Regions from separate parts of the Homo sapiens genome. Here regions 1 and 3 are each linked to region 2. Evidence: promoter capture Hi-C in 16 types of primary human blood cells and fetal thymus (Javierre and others, 2016). All regions are on one chromosome and are shown on one strand. The core of a region is centred on a gene start or on the middle of the fragment in contact, and the rest is flanking DNA. Distances in the headings are between cores, read along the strand shown. Region 1 overlaps GRIN3A (glutamate ionotropic receptor NMDA type subunit 3A). Region 2 holds the start of SMC2 (structural maintenance of chromosomes 2). Region 3 overlaps GRIN3A (glutamate ionotropic receptor NMDA type subunit 3A).

Region 1 (3,737 bases), core at 146-2,645, 2.5 Mb after region 2:
CAGGCCCAAGACCTACAATTCTCTGGTCTTGTTTTCCCCTCCCTCCGTATCATCACAAGATTAGGGCTGCTTCTCTGTTGCTTTCTGGCTACTATAAATAACACAAATTAGGATTCTGAGAGAAGGAAAACTAATTTCAGCAAGTGTCTCCTTCACCCTTGCTAACGACCAAGTAAACAGACCTCTCGGAATAAGAGTCCCCGCTTTTATATGCCAGAGATACTTGGGCATAAATTACACCCAAGACCACATACTGTTAAGAGTTCTTGCTTTTCCCCTGGTTAAATTCGGCAAACTCATGAATATTTATGAAATGCTATTTACTATGCAACTAAAAGGTATGAACGGTGCTAAAACTGATTAGGACTATTGTGAGAGACAGTCTTCCTTCCATTTTTTTAGACTTCCATGCACTAAAGTCTGTGGGGGATCACAGGAAATGGGACTCCTCACTCACCTCTATTCCCTGTGCAGAGAGGAGTTGCCTCCAGGCTTTGAGGATTCGGGTTTGAAGAAAGCGGAGAAAGCATGGAAATGTGTGAAGATTGCCATCTAGTGGCTATTGATGCGAGTTGTTACAAAATACTGCAAAAGCCATCTTTTTTCTTTCTCACAAAAGGCAAAAACCAAGTCTAAAATTGTGAGAAATTGCCCTGACATTTCCTCCAGGGTATCTGAGGACAATTCCTCCCCATGCGGCTGTGGGAGTTGGTAGAATTTCAGGACGTGTTGGATGAGAAGGCAACATCATGAGAGAGCCCTGGAGCCTTTATAGAGATGCCCCTCTTCTCACACAGTATAGGTGGCTTCCTGCAACATGAAAGCTTAGGGCTAGCTGGCCAGGGAAGCCAATGCACGCACATCTGGGGCCTCCTCTGAGCTCCTTCCCTCTGTCCTTCTGTCCAATAAGACTTCAGCCTAGGTGTTATGGGTTGGATTGTGTCCCCCAAAAAAGATATTGAGGTTCTGAGGTCCTAATTCTCAATACCTCAGAATGTGTTCTGGTTTGGAAATAGGGTCATTGCAGACATGTTTGGTTGAGCTGAGATGCAGTCATATTGCAGCAAGAGTGAACCCCGAATCCAGTATGACTGGCATCCTTGTCAGAAGCCATCTATCACACAAAGACAGACACTCAGGGAGAGCACCATGTGATGATGAAGGCAGAGAATGGATTTATGCATCTGCAAGTCAGGAAGGCCAAAGATGACCACAAACCACCAGGAGCTAGGAAGAGGCAAGCAAGGGTTGCCCTACAGGTTTCAAAGGGAGCATGACCCTGCCAACTCCTTGATTTCAGACTTCTAGCCTCCCGAACTAGGGGACAATAAATGTCTGTTGTTTAAGCCACCCCGTTTGTGCTGCTTCATTACAACAGCTCTTGCAAAATAATTAATACACTCCACATTTTACTTCTAGTGCCTCTTGCATCCCAGCTCAGGCTCTTCTAGACAAGCATTTGTAGATGTCATTGTTTCCTAGCTGCTCTCCCAGATACTGGTCTCTTGTCCTATTCAATCTACCCATAATGCCAGATTAATCTCTCCAAAATATAATTGTGATTAAGTTGTTCTTTTGATAAAACGTGTGCTTTCCCTACTGGGTAGAGACTAAATGTCTTAGCCAAACATTCAAAACCCTGCTTCATCTGGTTCTGTCTAGCTCATCTTCTGCTACTTTGCTCAAGTACTTCAGCCATTATAAGCAACTTGCTAATATCTACACCTGTACTCTTTCCCACTTCTGTGATTATGGTACTTGTTCCCTTTTCTCCCTCAGGATCAAATACTTCTTGAAGAAAGAAAAAAGTCTTCCTCTATTGTTCCCAGCAAGAAGTAATTTCTCAATTCTCTGAGTTCTTATAGTTCTTTTCCCTTACCTCTCTGATGACATGTTTTGTTGTCCATCTTGTATTATTAATTATAATTCTTTAATGCCTCAATTCACTCACTGATCAGCAAGCTTTCTGAGCAAAGACCATCTCTGAATGTCCCAATGCTTTACATGTTAAAACATGATTGAATAAATGATGCCCTATAAAGAATAATTGAGTAAATGTTGTCTTTTCTTCAGTGTATGGGGAATGGTCAAACCATCTTATCACTTCGTCCAATACCATGCTCTCCCTTGACCTCCCTACTCCGGTATGCTCCATATGCTCTCCCTTGACCTCCCTACTCCAGTCACACTGGCATTCTTTCAGTTCCTCCTACTTGTTTTGTTCCTCCTGCCCTAGGGCCTCTTTGCACATGGAGTTTCTTCTACCTGGAACACTCATTCCTTCCCAGAACATCTAGTTAACTTCTTCTGCTTCTTGAGATTGTAAATCAGTCATCATTTCCCCAGTAAAAGTTTTCTGTTGTCCAAACTCTCCTGGTACCATGTACTTCTCATCTGTAACACTCAAGGCAGGTGCTCCTTTACATCTATGGACATGATAATTTGGTTAATGTCCATCTTCCCATCAAAACTGTAAGCTCCAGGAGAACAGGGACAACAAGAAAAGTATCCACTTTAGGTCAGTATTATATTCTTCTCACATAGTAGATCCTCAATAATTATTTGTTGAGAAAACAAATAAATAGCTGAGTATATCTGTGTGCATGTATGCATACAGTCTACTTGAGTTTTTAAGCAAGCCTAAAGTAGGCAATAATTATAATCTCTACCATTCCTGTACCTACTATGTGATAGGCATTGAGCACCCTTCTTCTTATAATCTATCTCATTTAATCCTGAAAGTGATGTTATGAGTTAGTAATCATCATCCTTGTTTTACAGATGAGTGAAAAGATTCAGATAAGTAACTCTGCCCAAGGTCACAAAGTTGTTAAATAGCAAAACTTTGATTTAAAACCATACATGCCAAAATTCATTAAACACCATTTCAGTATTACAAAAGAAAACCAAACAGATGACAAACCTGATGCTCAAAAACAGTTTAAACTCGAGCTAGTAGTTCCACAGTCTAAACTGTGGCTAACGTCAGTACGCTTAGATATTAAATATGGTGACCGGCAATGCTACAGAAAGGTGAGAGCTTCCAACCAAATGTCAAGGACCACCTGTATAGCTTCTAGAACAGCTGTGTGACCTGGTCTCCTGACTGGCTTGAAAAATGAAGCCTTATATGAACCTCAGGTCTCATTTCCATTTCCGTTGGTTTGATTTTCCAATGTCAGTTATTTTTACATGTGACCTACTCAATATTTCTTTATCTAAAAACTTTTGAGGGAAAAAAATGACATGCTGAAATAGAGGTGCCATCAAGGCTCCTGGTTTCTTCCAAAACAGTTAGTCAACCCTTTTAATTTACTTGCTTCAGTGAATGTCCTACAGTCCACATCAATCCACAGTGATGAACAGAAAAGTAACAAACAGTGTTTTCCATGGAAATTACTAAGAATCATTTACAGAGAAAATCAAAACAATGGTGTTGAGTCCCATAATAATGCTGAGCTACATAGTTTATGAAAGGTAGAACAATGGGAACTCAAGTTCACATTGACTAAAACTCCAGATCTAGCATAATGTTACCTCCTCTACAGCACAGAGTAGAATGGTTCTGCTTGTACACCTGAATTATTTCAGTGAAGTGGTACCATCTTCCTAATACTGTCTGTGTAACCATTCAATATTCCTGTGACAAGATTTCACCTCTTACATAACATTTCTATATACGCTACCTCATCTGACTCTTACAATAACACATCGGTAGATGAAGCATGTGTAGGTAT
Region 2 (3,571 bases), core at 668-3,167:
AGTGATTGACACAGAGGCTTTGGTAATACCAGCCTGCCCATTTTTGTAAACTAAATCTTGTAAATTAGAAGCCCGAACCTAAAATAAAATATGAAAAGTGTAACAATTACAAAACTCCCTACCGTACAAAGCAGCACTAAAAATGGGTCCCTTGCTGTTGGAAAACCCACCAACGTAGTGTCCATTAAGTAGACAAGGTTAGGCAGCTGCATCCTCTGGCAAGAAAAACAAGGAAAATAGGCAACAACCTGCAATGGACACTTTTCTCTACAGAACCTTTTCAACCCTGAATTGAATTGTTTCCTATTCATTTTTTAATAAAAAGTTACTTTGCAAGATATAAGGAAATACTGTCCCAAAGATTTTCACTAGTCATTCAATCCATTAATAGGATTTGAAAAGGCATCATTACACAGGGTTGAAAATACTCTGGAATGAGACTGCTTTACAGTCAGAATGCCTGAGTTTTGAGGCACTGTTACTTCTAAACATCTCTAAGTTTCTATTTTCTCATCTAAAGGAGTAATATTACTTTCCTTAAAAGGTTGCAGTGAGGTGTAATTTACAAAAAGTATAAAAACACAAATGAAGAGAATATCGGGACGTCTCCAAAGTTCAGTGAGGATTCTCCTGCCAACTTAAATTCAAATAAATCAGAAAGTTTACACTTTACCTGAGACAGGTTGGAGATGCCCAGCAAAAAGCAGATGGAGTCCAATATGTTGGATTTCCCACTACCATTTAAGCCAGTGATAGCATTGAAGAGGGGGTCAAAACCATTGACTTCGGTCCTCTGAGCATAGGACTTGAATCCCTCTAGAATAATTGACTTAATATGCATTTTCGATACTGTCTTGGGTCAGCAAACCTCTGACAGGAATCAAACAGGCCACAAACCAGTTCTGTACGAAACAGAAATACCACCACCTAAGTGGAATGTAAACCTGGAATCATAATGAACACGAGGCAAAAACAGCAACGATAGGGTGATAGAAATAAAACAGCCACTTGACAAACTATCTTGTCTGATGTAAAGACATCGTTCATCTACTCAAAAATATACCAGAGTTAGCCACTATCTGGAAATTAAACCATTCAACTGGGAAGTCTTAACTATTTCTTCTACCCGTTTTTCCAGGCTTGCCTTCTACTTTTATCATACTCTACCTAAACAAAGACTATGGATTATTACATATCCCATTATCTTTGCCTATAATGTGCTTTTCTCTGATACTGACATAGCTTACTCTCTACTGCACTCACGTCTTTGCTCAAATGTCACCTTACTGGAGTCCTCCCTGACCTCCCTATGTCACCTCTCCACAATCCTTCACTCGGCTTTCTTTTTCCTTCATGGTACTTAAAGCTGATATTAGACGGTCATTACTTGTCTGTAAGTTCCCGCAGTGTCTTCACCTACGTCCGTCATTGCATCCCCGAATTGTGCTTGACTCCGGGAGGAGGGGAAGTCATTTAAGTATTTACTAGAGATGAGATGTATCTCATATTCTCCAACTTCTTGCTTTTACTCAGGCTTTTACCTCGCTTCTCCAGGCCTGTCTACACCTCTTCGCCCTACTCCAAGGTCGAACAGAAGCTAGCCTTTATTTCTAAGGATCACCTAAGGTCCCTCTGCCACTGGTCCCCCTCCCTACAGCCCCCGCGCCCCGCGCCCCGCCTCCCGCCTCCCGCCTCCCGCCAGGAAGTCTGGCCCGGCCCAACCGGCCGTGCTCACGCACACGCCTCACCGCTGCCTCAGGCCAGGGGCTTGACGCACCCCAAAAGCTCCTCCGGGTCACAAAGGCAGGGAACAGAACAACTCTCTAGCCGGGGCCGCTACAAAGCGAACTTCACCATAGCGGCTACAACACCTGCCACACCGCTCTCAACACCCGCGCCGGAACTATTTATTCCTTTGAATTTCGGCGCGAGCAAAGGACCCCACCTCCATTGCTTATTTCCTGTGCTGGTGCCTAGGAGCTGCCTGTCTTTAGGGTTCAATTTTTCCCCTACACTCGAAGGATTAAAGCCGCAGGGCAATAGAATGAGAGTCTCGATAATGGTAGCTCCGGGGACTCCCCGGCAGGGGCCTGGGCACTACAGGAGCAGATAGTGTATGTTCACACCGGCGTCCGGCACTCTATGGTCAGCCCCACACCTCGGCCCCGGGTCCTCGCGCTTCGCCAGCCCCGCCCCGCCTCGGTCCCTCTAGTTCGCGTTAGGCACACTGCAGACTCCGCCTTCTCCAGTCTGCGGTGCTGGCTGTGGCTTACTTTTCTCTCCTCAAAGCGACAGTTAGGAAGTGGAGAGGCATTCTATGAGTGTTCTCGTCGGTTCTGTTTTGGAAGCTTCAGAATCTTCTCGGGTTGGCTCAGATTGCTGCAAAATAAAAGCTGTACTTCTTGGGGCCAGAGAGGCACCGTCCTTCGGGGGACTCTGGCCCGCGTCCTGGCTCCGCCCCGTACTGGCCTCGGACCTCGGGGAGCGTTTTTATCTGAAGTTTCCACGTCGGAAAGGGATCGTAGTCTACCGAGAGCTGTTCCGAGCCCAGAGGAGAAATTGTGTGGTGCTAAATAGCTATTCATCTCCCTTATACCGGAAAGCGTTGTAATGATAAGCCGACCTAACCTGTTGGGGATTTTTTCTGGAAACCTTTTAAGACAGTTCATGTTATTGAGTTCTGAATATTAGGCTATATTGCAAGGGGCTTTTTAAAATCCACGTAGCAACCCTATGAAATCAGAAATTGCCCTCGTTTTACAAATGAGTTAAATGAGACCAAGTAAAAGGTTAAACAGCTTGTCTAGTAAGCTGGGATTTGTTCCCAGGCGGTCTAGCTCCAGATTGCATGCTTTTAAATACTAGGCTTCATGCATAGAATCTAGTATTATTAGCCGATCCTATTATTAGTATGTATTGTTCTTTAGGAAGAAAAAACGTGTCAGGATTGCTCACGTTTCCAAGCACGTTGATACTTAAGAGTTAGGAAGGGCTTAACTCCGAATGGGTATGGTGTTACCCTAAGTGAGGTTCAAAAAGATGGTGTGGGCAACAATGCTATTTTGGAATGGCTTGATCCTTTTGGGCTTCCATAACAAAATATCCTAGACTGGGTAGTTTATGAACCACAGAAGTTTATTCTTCACATTTCTGAAGGCTGGAATGTCACAGAATAAGGTGTGTCTAGGGAGGGGTGCTTTCTCTTTAGTGGATAGCACCTTCTGGCTCTGTCCTCGCATGGTGGAGAGGCAGAGGCCCTCGCTTGGGCCTATTTTATAAGGACCTTAATCCCATTCCTCACTTCCCAAGATGCCACTTGCTAAAACCGTCAGTTCGGGAGTTAGGATTTCAAAATGTGCATTTTGAGGGACACATTTAGACCATAGCGTAGGTCATGTTTTTAAAGTTGCTTTCTTGGCCCTGGAATGGCAATGCAGTCATCTGAATTGGTCTTAACCTACCAGGAATGGGCTTATATTTTGAAAATATTTCTCGATAAGGGAGTAAAATAAGTTGTATGGGTTTTTTGTTTAAGAAAGGATTCCTTTGTTTACTCTGGTATGCTTATCCA
Region 3 (3,877 bases), core at 1,252-3,751, 2.5 Mb after region 2:
CTTATAAAAAAGCAGGGCCCATCTGCTCAGAGTTTAACTGAATGTTTGATGATGTTACAGTCCAAACTAAATTCCCCCAGTCTGTTCTTAATCCACAGCAATAACTCACTGAATCCTTCATATTATAGCCATATCCTGTACACATTAAAATAGGTCTAGGTCAAGGACTATTTTCAGACACATTTGTATGTACTTTCTGCATGTCAGGTTTACATAACTAGTCACCATTTGCACACAGAGATGTCCCAGGAAAATCCCTAGTACCTCTGAAGCCCTTGGGGTCCAACGTGCTTCCCTACCAAACCCTTTCCCAGACCAGCATTCCTTGTTTCGTAGGGCTGGGCTTCGGCCTGCATTCCCAAGTCATCTGCCCAATTTTCCTGCCTTGTGCCAGTCTCCGAGCCCCTGCTCAGCTCTAGTCTTTCCTTTTCTAGGGACCCTAACACTAGTCTTTGATTCACAGCCTGCAGTACTGGCATGGAGGGAAAGAGATTTCCTGAGCTAGGCTCCAACACAGCCTGAAATCTCCGACCTTTTCTTCTGAGTCCTGACCCCCAGATAGACTTCCCTATGCACCCTATGCCTGAATCATGCCTGGCCGGCTGTTTCTCCAGAATAGAGGTGGAGAGAGGTGGGGAGAATGAAAGGAAAACCTTTAAAGAGAATGGGAGGATCATTCACATCAGACAAATGAGTCAGTGAAGACTGTGGGCTCTGAAAACAGACGGCATGGGTTTGAATCCCAGCTCTAACCTTCACGAGCTATGTGACCTTGGACAAGTTATTGAACTTCTTTGTTGCTCAGTTTCTTCACTTATAAAATGGAGATTATACCAGTATTTACCTTATAAATTGTCATAAAGATAAGGCAAGTTGCTACATTGATAAAGTGCTCAGAATTGTGCCTTACACATATTCAATGCTAAATAATTATAAATGATAATGATGACCAAAAGCTTCCAGCAAAGGGATAACACCCAGGCTCCTTAGTACGGCATCTGAGGATTTGCCTAGTGTGGCCCTGTTTCTCTCTCACTGCATATCTTTGTCCATGTGTGCCATTATAACAAAATACCCGAGACTGGGTACTTTATAAAGAAGAGAAGTGTATTCCCCACAGTTCTGGAGGCTGGAAGTTCAAGATCAAAGCACCACCAAGTTTATTGTCTTAGTAAGGGCCCAGTCTCTGCTTCCAAGATGGCATCTTGTTGCTTGTCCTCCACAGGGGACAAATGATGTGTCCTCCCATGGTGAAAGGCTGGAAGGGCAACAAAAGGGACTAGCTAGCTTCCTCAAGCCCTTTTATAAGGGCACTCATCCCTTCATAAGGGCTCTTAATACCAACCCTTGGAGTTTAGGTTTAAACATATGAGTTTGAGAGGGACATATACATTCAAACTATGGCACTATTCATGCCTTGTATACTTTTCCTTCAGCCACAGCAGTCAGTTTCACAACACTATACCACTGTCCAGGAAAGTCATGTCTTTTTTCCTTTGTTTATGCTACCCTCAGGTTAGTATGTTCACTTTCCCCACCCAACCTCCCCATCCTGCCTGTCTTATTCAAATGTTATCTCATGAACCAGCTTCCCCACAAATCCCAGGAAGCATGGATCAAATGTATCATGGAGGTATATGTTTGTTTTCTCCCTAGACTCAAGCTGTTTAAAAGGAAAGATATAACTTCCTTCTATCTCTATCCCATGATACGCAGAAGAGTGCCTGGCACCTAGTATTAACTCAATATATTATGTATTTTTACTTCTACGGGATTGACTCTTGTCATTGATGTCAATGGCTAAATAATGGCTGTTTTAGAGTACATGTGAGGGTTTTCTTAATCTACACAAATCACTTAGCAAAGTGCTGGCCACAGATATTTATTGTAACTACTATTGTTGCTATAACTGCTGCTGTTTTGGTATATAGCAGTAGAGCAGAAAGAGCCCAGGCTTTGGAGCTGAACAGAAATGGACTGAAAGACCAACTTTGCCACTTAAAAGTTGCAGTAACTCCACTTTCCTTAGTTATAAAATAGACGTTATATATCTATTTTAATGTAAAACACTTGGCAGAAAGTAAGCAACCAATAAATATCATTAAGTTCCTTCTCTTTCTCTTCTATGCCTTTTTTGTGGCTTGGCTCGGTTTACTACACTTCTCTGGTCTCACTTTCCTCCTCTGTAAATGAACTAGATGATTTCCATGTTCCCTACCAGATCCAAATTCCAAAGTTACTGAACTCACCATCTTTTTCCCCTTAAATCTACTCATTCTCTTCCCTGAGGGACGTTCTTTCCTTGACAGCTACCAGGTATATTAAATTGTTTCAATTCTCTATCTCTATCTCTCTCAATCTCTAAGAGACCATAAGGTGGTCCAGACCCAGGGCCTTGGCACAACTCCAGGGGCCATTTGCACAGTGGATTAACATACGAATAGCGCCTGTCAACTGAAGAATCATGAGCTTCATAAATTTGGCCAGGAGATCTTTAGTTCTCATAAAGGGTTGCAGCCAGCAGGCCAGCCATCCTGCAGAATGGGAAGCATAGCCTCAGCAGAAGCTGAGAGCAAGCACTTCAAGGGAGGGGTAAAAGGGAACAGGAATTTATGCTGAGTGGGGTGGCTGAGTATACGTATTGAGTAAGCTATAGGAGGAGTCATAAATATTTATGAAAAGAGATACATGCACATGTGCAGTTGAGCTTCATGCCTCTTCCTGGGCCCATGTTCAAAAAATGGTGGTGTTAGCATGACCCGAGGGTGGAGATTTTGGTCTTCTGATGTCCAAATGTGAAGCAGAGGACATGAAAACCCTCACTATGCATCCCCCACAAGTTGGCCAAAACCATCTGGAGATTGTGGTCATTTTTTAGGAAGGGTGCATTGGGAAACTGGTGAGCTGTCACACTGAAACTGCAAAGAGGGAGGGAGAATCTGGTTATGGCCTTAGATGATTAGCTAAAGGTGATAAAGCAATGAGTTATCGGTTTCTTGTTTTCCAGAGCTAGCTTTTGCTTACTTCTTAAGAATGAATTATGGCTAAAGGTTAATAAGGAAGGGACAACTGAGGCATGACAGACCTCCCATCCAATCAAGGCCAGGAACTCAGTTTTTAAGGTTTCTTCGGGGTCCCCATGGACAAGAGAAAGTTCGTTCAGTCGGTTGGAGAGCTTTTAATTTTATTTTTATTTCTCACCCTCTAGGCATTGGGTGCTCCTCGGCAGCCCTCAGTCCAACCCTGGCTGAATTTCTTTCATGATGTATAATGAAGGTCACAGAACACACAGGGAGAAATAGTCTCCAGCTGTCCTTGAGTCCAGAAAAAATGAATATCCATCTGAAAACCAAAGAGTACACAAGCATTGGGCCAGGTATATCATTGTATTCATGGCCTTTTCTTTCCTATTCTGTCACAGACTTTGCAAATGGGCATCAAACACTTCTCTGGGCTCTTTGTGCTGCTGTGCATTGGATTTGGTCTGTCCATTTTGACCACCATTGGTGAGCACATAGTATACAGGCTGCTGCTACCACGAATCAAAAACAAATCCAAGCTGCAATACTGGCTCCACACCAGCCAGGTGAGTGCCACAGGTGTCTTGCTCCAATATTCTTAAACTGTACAATTCCTAGGGATGGGAGGATCCAGAGCCCTATGTCAGACTACTAAGTTATGTTACCACAATAACGAGGGTGGGGTAGGCACTCTCATTAGAGCAGAAGGAATTCTCTCTATCCCATTAATTCACTTTTCCCTTAAATTAAGGCATCCCACAGTGCTCCTTCCTTTCCTATAACCCTCCACTGTTGTTCATAATAGAAGAAATAGAACTTTTTTAACCAGGTTTCACTTAATAGTGACAGTCTGAAAA

What was found. The method cuts DNA at HindIII sites, captures the fragments that hold promoters and counts their contacts. A CHiCAGO score of 5 or more calls a contact.
Region 1: a fragment that was not itself captured here is called in contact with the fragment with the promoter of SMC2 in region 2 in 1 of 17 cell types (total CD4 T cells); the score reaches 5.0 in total CD4 T cells.
Region 3: a fragment that was not itself captured here is called in contact with the fragment with the promoter of SMC2 in region 2 in 1 of 17 cell types (M1 macrophages); the score reaches 6.5 in M1 macrophages.

Annotation. Positions count from the first base shown.
Region 1 is chr9:101,599,159-101,602,895 of GRCh38, reverse strand. All of the region lies in intron 6 of GRIN3A (glutamate ionotropic receptor NMDA type subunit 3A), which reads left to right. Among named protein-coding and RNA genes, the nearest start is that of PPP3R2, 6.1 kb to the right of the region's middle. The HindIII fragment of the contact is 1,138 bases long and covers 827-1,964 here.
Region 2 is chr9:104,092,655-104,096,225 of GRCh38, reverse strand. SMC2 (structural maintenance of chromosomes 2) reads right to left here and starts at 1,917. Exons shown (of 25, transcript NM_006444.3): 1 at 1,749-1,917; 2 at 674-902; 3 at 1-78. The coding sequence starts at 841. RefSeq lists enhancers at 1,297-1,964, 2,183-2,502, 1,965-2,634. The HindIII fragment of the contact is 5,032 bases long and covers 1-2,350 here.
Region 3 is chr9:101,578,905-101,582,781 of GRCh38, reverse strand. GRIN3A (glutamate ionotropic receptor NMDA type subunit 3A) reads left to right here. Exons shown (of 9, transcript NM_133445.3): 7 at 3,422-3,586. Among named protein-coding and RNA genes, the nearest start is that of PPP3R2, 14 kb to the left of the region's middle. The HindIII fragment of the contact is 3,086 bases long and covers 959-3,877 here.